Linked DNA regions of Homo sapiens: region 2 is linked to region 1. The links are contacts of gene promoters, found by promoter capture Hi-C in human tissues and cell types (Jung and others, 2019). All regions are on one chromosome and are shown on one strand. The core of a region is centred on a gene start or on the middle of the fragment in contact, and the rest is flanking DNA. Distances in the headings are between cores, read along the strand shown.

The links. The method cuts DNA at HindIII sites, captures the fragments that hold promoters and counts their contacts. A contact is called where the count stands out against the background at its distance.
Region 2: a contact is called between a fragment that was not itself captured here and the fragment with the promoter of GABBR2 in region 1, in 2 of the 25 tissues and cell types used here (H1 embryonic stem cells and thymus).

What each region holds. Positions count from the first base shown.
Region 1 is chr9:98,707,621-98,712,197 of GRCh38, reverse strand. GABBR2 (gamma-aminobutyric acid type B receptor subunit 2) reads left to right here and starts at 3,263. Exons shown (of 19, transcript NM_005458.8): 1 at 3,263-3,781. The coding sequence starts at 3,461. RefSeq lists enhancers at 1,877-2,171, 3,924-4,494. The HindIII fragment of the contact is 12,748 bases long and covers 1-4,577 here.
Region 2 is chr9:98,228,132-98,232,565 of GRCh38, reverse strand. TBC1D2 (TBC1 domain family member 2) reads left to right here. Exons shown (of 13, transcript NM_001267571.2): 5 at 3,418-3,614. It overlaps MIR6854 (microRNA 6854), which reads left to right and starts at 3,349; the gene lies at 3,349-3,417. The HindIII fragment of the contact is 4,287 bases long and covers 1-3,606 here.

The DNA.
Region 1 (4,577 bases), core at 2,014-4,513:
TATTACATCTCTTAAAAGGTAGATGAGTTCAAGGGAATCAAGTGTTTTCCACATTCTGGGACTTGGCCAATGCATTTTATTCCAATTAATAAGAAGCACAATGATTAGCCAATTCTCATCCTCTCTTCTGCTTATACCCTGGCCTGGCCACCAAATGTGCTTATTGTAGTAGAGACTCCTAACAGGTATTCCTGCTCACGCTCTTTTCCCCTGCTAACGGTTCTTCACTCTACAGCCAGAGTGATCCTCTTAAAATACATCAGATCATGTCACTGCTCCACCCAGTAGCCTCCCACGGTTGCTGTTTCATGTGCCCTCCCAGTGCTGAGGCCCCATACAGTCCTACCTGCCTTTGACCTTGGATCTGATTGCTTTCCCTTTGCCCACTCTGCTCTACCACATTGGCTTCCACATTGTTCCTTGAACATGCCAGGCACACTCCTGTCTCGGAGCCTCTGCCCTTGCTGTTCCTCTGCATGGAACACTATTCGCCTGTCTCTCTTACTTACCTTCTTTATGTCTTTGCTGAGGAGTCACCTTAGTGTGTCTTTCCCTGACCTCCCTATTTCAAATTGCAGCCCCACTCTGCCAGTCTCAATCCTCTTTCCTGCTTTTTTGTTCACCATAGCACTTTTCATAAATGGGCATACTAACATATCTTCTTCTTCCTATTTATTGTTTCTCTTTCTCCACTAGAATGTCAATTCTACAAGGGCAGGGATTTTGTTCTGGTTTTTTCCTTCCTATATCATCAGCTCCTAGGACAGTGCCTAGCAGGTAGCATGCCCTTCAAAACACTGGTCAAAGGAATGAATGATTATTATAAAGCAAGACGCTGGACCCCAGCTCTGGAGGAACATGCATTCTAGGCTGGTGACTGAGGCAGGAACTCAGACTCAGGAAGCACATCAGGGATGCAGTTACCCAAACTGTAATACCAGGCCAGAGTAAGATCTTGGAACCAGAGGGATGCCCAGGCATTAGGAGTGGGCTGTGAGATCAGAGATTGGCCTGGAGCCATGCTGATGGAGAGTGAGATTGGTGCCCCCTGGGTCAGGGCAGATCCCAGGTCATGCGTCTTGGGGCCAGGTCACCCCACCATAAAAGAAGACAGAGGGGCTGTAGGGCAGGATGCCAGGTAGGGCCTTCAACCCCTTAGTAAATGTCAGGCAAAGTTACCCAGCTTTCAACTTATTCCCAGATGTAGGTGTCAGTGGACACTCTATATTGGCACAGCTTGCAAGGAGGACACAAATGACTAAAGGAAAGAATTAGAAAAAAGAAAAAAACCAAGTGAAAATGTTCATTCAGAAACCTGAGCTAAGGGTTTGAGGAATGGCAGGTGCCAGAAGACTATGACTGGAGGATATTTGTGATGTCAAGTGAGACAGCAGTTGAGCGAGTATCTGGGGATTACACTGTCCTTTGGACCATTTCTTTCCCTCCCTCCCTTCCTTCCTCCCTTCCTGGAGGAGATGCTCAGGTGAGTTCTGTTCATGCAAACCCTCCAGCTTGGGGAAAAGGAAATGCCAAGTGGAGCCGGGAGAGGTGGAGTCTATAGAAGCCTGGAAAGAGAAGTTAGGGCAGAGAGAATTTGGCCTGGTTTCCCTGGCGCTGTCCAAGGTACTCTCTAGTAGTTCTGCTCAGCCTCCACTCACATCTTTGTGCTTCCTAACAACTCAGCCTGGATTCAGAGCTGCCCTTGCCTCACTCCAGTAGAGCTGGTGTGTGGCCATCATCATCATCATCCGGTCCAAATCCCTCACCATATGCCGGAGGGAATCGATGTCCAGAGCAACTGAGTCAGGGCAGTGCTCCTCCTGGAGAGGAAACTTGCAGTCCCACATCCCTGGCTCCCACTGCACTGTGCACGGAGTTCCTGCTGGCTCTGGGTTCCGGTCCTTCAGTAGCTCTGTGTGCTTCCACTAGCTACAGAACCTCTCTGAGCACCAGTGTATTCGCCTGTAAAGTAAGGGTGAGTAACACAGTATGCTTACAGGGCAGTTGTGGGGATTACATCATAAGGCACACAGTAAGTACTCAGCGAAGGTCAAACTTCCATTCTTGTTACAAGGTCGTCGATATCTTCCACAGTCCCTGGTTCAGGCTCAAGTATGTTTTGTGATTTGATGTCCTACTGTGTTCCTCGCATTAATCAGCCCCTGGGACTTTATAGATTAATGATCACGTTTCCTATTCTTGAAGTATGCAGAGGCACAAGGAACCCAAGGTCTTAGGTCAGCTCACTCGGGTACATCTGGCTCGGGACTGCTTTGGCTAAGATTGGCCAGTGCGACCTGGCAGAGAGAGGGCCAAGTCCAGGGGCGCGCGGCCCCGCCCTGGCCTGAGGATAGTGCTCCCACCCCGGGAGACTTCTAGGGCGGGGCCCATCAAGAATGGGGACGCGGGGAGGTCAAATGCCTGGAGGGGGCGGTAGCGCACGTAAGGTTGGGACCCCAGCTTTGCTTGGGGTTGGCAAAGGGCGGTCGCTCCGTCTGGTGGGGAGGAAAGGGGTGTCCTCAGCCAAGGCCCTAAAGGCCGGGCAGCCTGGCACCAACGGGCGTTCGAGCACCCGTGGGCGTCTTCAGCGACCCCCGGGACTCGGTCAGGGGCTCGTGGGCGCCAGAAAAGAACGGGAGAGCGTAGGCTGCAGATGCCTCTGGGACGCCTTCGTGGAACATTCTCCTGCCCAGACCTTCCCGGCCAGACCTCCGAGAAGCGGTTCCAAACCACCGTGCAGGTGCTACAGGCAGCGCTCGGCGGAGCGGCGGCGGCCACTGCGTGTGCCAGCGCGCGGTCCCGGTTCCCAGATCGCTGTCCCCGGGCGCTCTGGTGCCTGGAGGTCAGCGGTCGGCGGGCAGCGGCAGCTGGCGCAGCGGAGGGCCGGGGGCGCGTGTGTGCGTGTGCTGGGAAGGTGGCCCTCCCCGCGGCCGCCGCAGCGCCAGCGCCTCCCCCTCCCCCGGCGCGCACGGCTCGTCCCCGTCCCTGGAGGCGGCCCGAGCCGCCCCTGAGCAGCCTCGCCTTCGCCTCCCGCGTTTCCTGCCGTCCGCCCTCCCCCGGCCGAGCTCCAGGGGCTGCCGCCTAGCAGCTCCCGGCGGGAGAGCGGTTCAGAGCGCGCACGGGGGCGGGCGGAGGCGGCCCGGTGCGGGGCGGCCGCGCTGGAGAGAGGCGCGCGCGGAGACGCCGGCCCCCCTCTCCGCGTTTGCTCGCTTGCTCCCCGCCTCCCGCACTCCGCTCGCTCCCACCCCTTCCCGGCGTGATTGATCCGTCACGGGCGCCGCCGCTGCCGCCGCCGCCGCCGCGGCCGTTCTGAGCCGAGCCGGAACCCTAGCCCGAGACGGAGCCGGGGCCCGGGCCGGCGCCATTGCGCGGGCGCCGCGGGAAGACCTTGGCGCGGGGCGGCGGGCCGGGCCAGGCCATGCGGGCCGAGTGAGCCGGCGCCCGCAGCCCGCGGCGCGGCATGGCTTCCCCGCGGAGCTCCGGGCAGCCCGGGCCGCCGCCGCCGCCGCCACCGCCGCCCGCGCGCCTGCTACTGCTACTGCTGCTGCCGCTGCTGCTGCCTCTGGCGCCCGGGGCCTGGGGCTGGGCGCGGGGCGCCCCCCGGCCGCCGCCCAGCAGCCCGCCGCTCTCCATCATGGGCCTCATGCCGCTCACCAAGGAGGTGGCCAAGGGCAGCATCGGGCGCGGTGTGCTCCCCGCCGTGGAACTGGCCATCGAGCAGATCCGCAACGAGTCACTCCTGCGCCCCTACTTCCTCGACCTGCGGCTCTATGACACGGAGGTGAGTGTCCGGCTGCCCCTGCCGTCGGGGCTTCGGGGGGCATTGGGGTGGGTGGTTTGGACACAGGCAACCTCCGGCCTTTGGTCAGATCCCCGATTGACCGGCCCGCGCCTGCCGAGGGCAGAGAGGGCTGGTGCCCAGTGTTCACCCCCGCGGTCCTGCTGGGCTTGGCTGGCACAGCTGGTAACATTTGCCAAGCACCCCCTCCTCTGGTCTTATGTGTGTATGTGTGTGTGGGGAGGGGTGGGGGTGGGATAGAAGACTGGGGTCTCTTTTGACCAGAGAAAAAGGAGTGGAGAAGGTGGGGGCTGGACCCCCAAAGGCCTACATTGATTGTCCCTGTCCAGGTCCCGCTCATGGGGCTGCGAGGTACCGAGTGGGAGGAACAGGCGCATTGACTGCAAACTGGGCCACCCAGGGCCGGAGGGGCCGCGGGCCTGCTCACAGGCCCCCAGGGAAGCCGAGCCGCGCTTTGAGGTCCGGAAGGCTCCGGAACCCAAGGGGCTTGAGCGTGCAGCGTGGCTGGGCGCCTGGTGCGCGCCAGCAGCTCTGAGCCCGCTCCGCGCGGGCAAGTGTGGGGCCACCGGCTCTGCAGCGCTTCTGCCTGGACGTGCCCGGCGCTGCCTGTGGCCAGAGCGATTTCAGGAGACCCCTGCCTCGGGTTAGTTGCTCAGAAAGTGCCCTGGCAGTTCTCGTCCCGGACGTGCAGTGGTGTCCGGCCGCGCCGCTGCTGTTGGCCGGGCGGCTGCAGGCAGTTTCTCACGGCTCAGGCTTGAAGCATCCGACCTAGCAGCCG
Region 2 (4,434 bases), core at 214-2,713, 480 kb after region 1:
CTGGAGGATTGCTTGAGCCCAGGAGTTCAAGACAAGCCTGGGCAACACAGGGAGACCCTGTCTTTACAAAAAAATAAAAAAATTAGCTGATCATGGTGCAAGCCTGTAGTCCCAGCTACTTGGGATGCTCAGCTGGGAGGATCACTTGAGCCAGGGAGGTCGAGGCTGCAGTGAGCCGTGATCATGCATGGGTGACAGAGTGAGACACTGTCAAAAAAAAAAACAGAAAAAGAGAAAGAAGAAAAGAAAAAGCACCCTTTGGAGCAGTCAGTGCCTGGCAGAGCCCTAGAGAGCACAACAAGCAGTCCAAGAGAAGGCCAGTGCTATATCGGATGAGTCACCATCATCATAACACTAGCAGTTACTTCATGCCAGTGCGGCAGTAAGCATTTTTTTTGGCAACAACTTTATTAAGATATATTCATGTACTATACAATTCACCCATTTAAAATGTGTAATTCAGTGGCTTTCTGTATATCCTCAGAATTATGCAGCCGTCACTATAATCAATTTTAGAACATTTTTATTACCCCAAAAAGAAACCTGCACCCTTAGTCATCAACCTTAATCCCCACTGCCCCATAACCCTAGGTGGCCACTCATCTTTCTTTCTCTATGGCTGTGCCTGTTCTCGACATCTGCTGTGAGTGGAATATACCAAGGAATATACCATGCTGTGACTGGCTTCTTTGACTTAGTAGAATCTTTTCAAGTTTCATCTGTGTGTACCAAGCACTTTACCTACCTTGACCTATTTAATTCTTACAGCAACTGGAACTGTATATATTGTATATATTGTTGTTATCCTCATTAGATTAATAAGGAAACTGAGGCATGGAAGGGTGGAGTGACTTGCTCACGGCCACAGAGTGAGTGACAGAACAAAATCTAATATATAAAGCAGATAAATCCACCATAAGTTGAAAATATCATAAGTTGAAAATGCATTTAATATACTTAACCTATTGAACAGTATAGTTTTGCCCAGTCTATCTTAACCATGCTTGGAACACATACATTTGGGCAAAATCATCTAACACAAAACCTATTTTCTAATAAAGTGTTGAATATCTCAACACTGTGTTAAACTGTGTTAAACGGTGTTTACACTGTGTTAAACAGTGGTTGTAATCAGATTTTTAAATGGAGGAAAAGATTATTTTTATGTCAATAAATCTTTTCTAATATGTACAAATGAGTTTCTTGAACACTAATAAAAAACACCTAAATTCTTTTTGAGACTCTAAATGAGCTACAAATTAAAAAAAAAAAAAAAAAAAAAAAAAGCAGAGTTGAGGCTGGAGTTGGAGTCTGGACTCCTCCTCTGCTCCTCTTACTCCACCTTCCTCTCCCAGTCAGCCCTTGAGGCACTCCTATGAAATCCAGGGCACTGATTGAACACCACTGTCTTAGGCCTTATTTTCTCTAATTATAAACTGGGCACTGTGAGGCCTGCCCTGCCTGTCCTCAGAGTTGGTGCACAGTCATGTATCAGAGGGCAGCAGTGCTACAAGGAGCTTCCCTGCTCCCCTATACCCCATTACAGGAAGGAGAAAGAGGTAGTACATATTTCTGAGCTCTGCAGGCTGCCTTGTACCCAGTGTAACCTGATTTCTCTTCGATCTGGAACAAGACTGTTCTGGTTTTGCACTCAGCAAGGCACTGTTGTTTTGTTCGTTTGTTTTGAGTCAGAGTCTCGCTCTGTTGCCCAGGCTAAAGCGCACTGGCATGATCTCGGCTCACTACAACCTCTGCCTCCCGGGTTCAAGTGATTTCTGGCTAATTTTTGTATTTTTAGTAGAAACGGGGTTTCACCATGTTGGCCGGGTGGTCTCGAACTCCTGACTTCAAGTGATCTACCCGCCTCAGCCTCCCAAAGTCCTAGGATTACAGGCGTGAGCCACCACGCCCGGCCGAGCAAGGTACTGTTTTTGCACTCAGTGTCTGGTTCCTGTCACCTACTGGAGTAACTCTTTATTTGTTCAAGACTGTTTGGCCAGCCCTTGGCCTGGTCTCATGCTAAGTCATTTGGCCTATCCCCAAAGCCCTGCGTGTCCCCTATCCTGGGATGCCATACCACATTCTTATTTTCAACACCTTTAACACTTTAGTCCCAAGAAATAGGTAATAGTTTACTAAAATGCATACTCCTGCAAATGAGTAATTTGGTTAGGAGATTTAGATAAGATCAATTTACGATCCTACAAAATATCTGAGAGTAGGCAGTAAATGTGGCTGTAAGCTCAGCAGCCAAGGCAAAGAGGGAAATGCAAGCAGCTAGATTATTTCCAGTGTCCATAAGACTAAAAACATATTTTCTTATAAGAAGCAAAGCTTTTCTTGGAAGTTCCTAGGGCTGAAGGGAATTTCTTCTGCTGGGGACTCATAATAGGCATGATGTATATATCCCATGTGAACAAGCTTCTCAAGGGCCCTTGGCTACATAGTCAGGCCCTTAAATGTCCCTTGATGCAGGCTGATGGCAGAGACCAGAAGCACAGCTGGGTCAGGGCAGGACAAGGCAACACAAGGGAATGATTCTCTGATGTTTGGTTTGATTTAAGAATAAAATTTTGATGACTTAAAAACAGTGGGTGGCAAACATTTTTTGTAAAGAGCAAGATAGTAACGATTCGAGGCTTTGTGGGCCATAGGGTTTCTGTTTTAAGCACTCAGTTCTGCCTTTGAGGAGTAAAAGCAGCAATAGACAGCACATAAACAAATGGGCATGGCCGTGTTCTAATAAAGCTTTATTTGTAAAAGCAGGCTGTGGGCTGGATTTGGCCTGTGAACCATAGGTTGTAACCCAGGAGATAAAAGGACTATGCATCCTTGAGACAATCAACTGTGGGGGAAATATATCTCTTAACTTAGCTTGGAATAAGAAGAATCAAGTTAAATGCTTGAGCTGCTCTCTGGAGCAAGAATGCAGAGTACAGACATTCATTTTGTGTTCCTATCATCAGACAGATCTGTGTGCTTTGAAAATCTCCTAGTACATAGAGGTGGGATCCTGAAATAAGGAACAGAACATCCTGCCAGGGCTTGTGCCTGAGGAGAAAGCCACTTGGCAAACACCAGCAGGGTGGCATGAGATAGACCAATGCAGGCTGGGTGGGATCTGAAGGAAGGAGACAGGCACAGTTTAGCAGATGGGCCAGCACAGTGCAATAACGTTTATGTAGGCCAGTGGTTCTCACAGTCTAACCCCTGGACAAGCTGTGTCAGCATCACCTAGGAACTTTTTAGAAGTGCATATTCTCAAGCCCTGCCCCAGACCTATTAAATCCAGAGCTCCGAAATTAGGGCCCAACCATCCGCATTTTAACAAGCCCTCCAGGTGCTTCTAAAGCAAGCTCAGGTTTGAGAACTGCTGATGTCATCAGTCATAACTTCTGCGTTTCTCCTCTTGAGCAGGGAGAGAGCCAGAGGATTCTCCAAAGCCTGCACCCAAGCCTTCTCTGACCATCAGTTTCGCTCAGAAAGCCAAGCGCCAGAACAACACCTTCCCATTCTTTTCTGAAGGAATCACACGGAACCGAACTGCCCAGGAGAAAGTGGCAGCCTTGGAGCAACAGGTTCTGATGCTCACCAAGGAGTTAAAGTCTCAGAAGGTGAGGTCTGGTCCCAGGGAGGCCCCAGGTTCCAGTGGACCCCTCCAGTTCCTGGAGCCTTTCGGATAAGCTAGATGGGACGCATTAGCCGTGCTGGGCACCAGCTACTCTCTGGTCTTTAAAGGCCAAACTGCAGAATGTTGAAATATGCTGTTGATTACTCAAGAACCTGATGTCACTCAAAGTAAGTCACAAAAGGGCACCAAGGGCAGGTATCTCTGGAGATCTACTCTAATAACTGTCTCTTGGACCCCTCCTGGAGGGCCATGCATGGTCTCACCCCCTACCCAGAAAATGACATTATTTAGAGGCAGGTGATCTGGATGCAGGGTCATGGGAGGGGCTGTCGATAGAACTGGGGGGAACTTTGACCTGGCAGCCGATATCTGGGCACAGATATCTGAATGACCGTCACAAGACTGTCACAGGAGAAAGCAAACAAGCAGCATGTGTGTGGCCCAGGGCTAAGCCAGGACCAACACAGAAACAGTGAAAGGAATATTTGGGCTTAATATGGTAAGAAGTTAATTACGAGAGTTACAAGAGCTATATAATAATTGTAGAAAACAGATCTCATACACACAGACATTAAAACTACTCCAAAATCCTACATCCCAGAGAGTAAATGGTATTAAAAGCCAGGGGCTACCTTATGAAGTAGTGAGGGTCCCAGGGCAAAGATGTGAGAGGGCTGCAGCTCCGGGCGGGAGCCCCTCTTTAGAGTGATAAAAGCGACTAAGTTAGGCAGTTGTTACATAAATCCCAACGGTGGGGCCTGGTAGGACCTGTGGTGGCAGTGGCGGGCTCCAGTGAGGGCCCA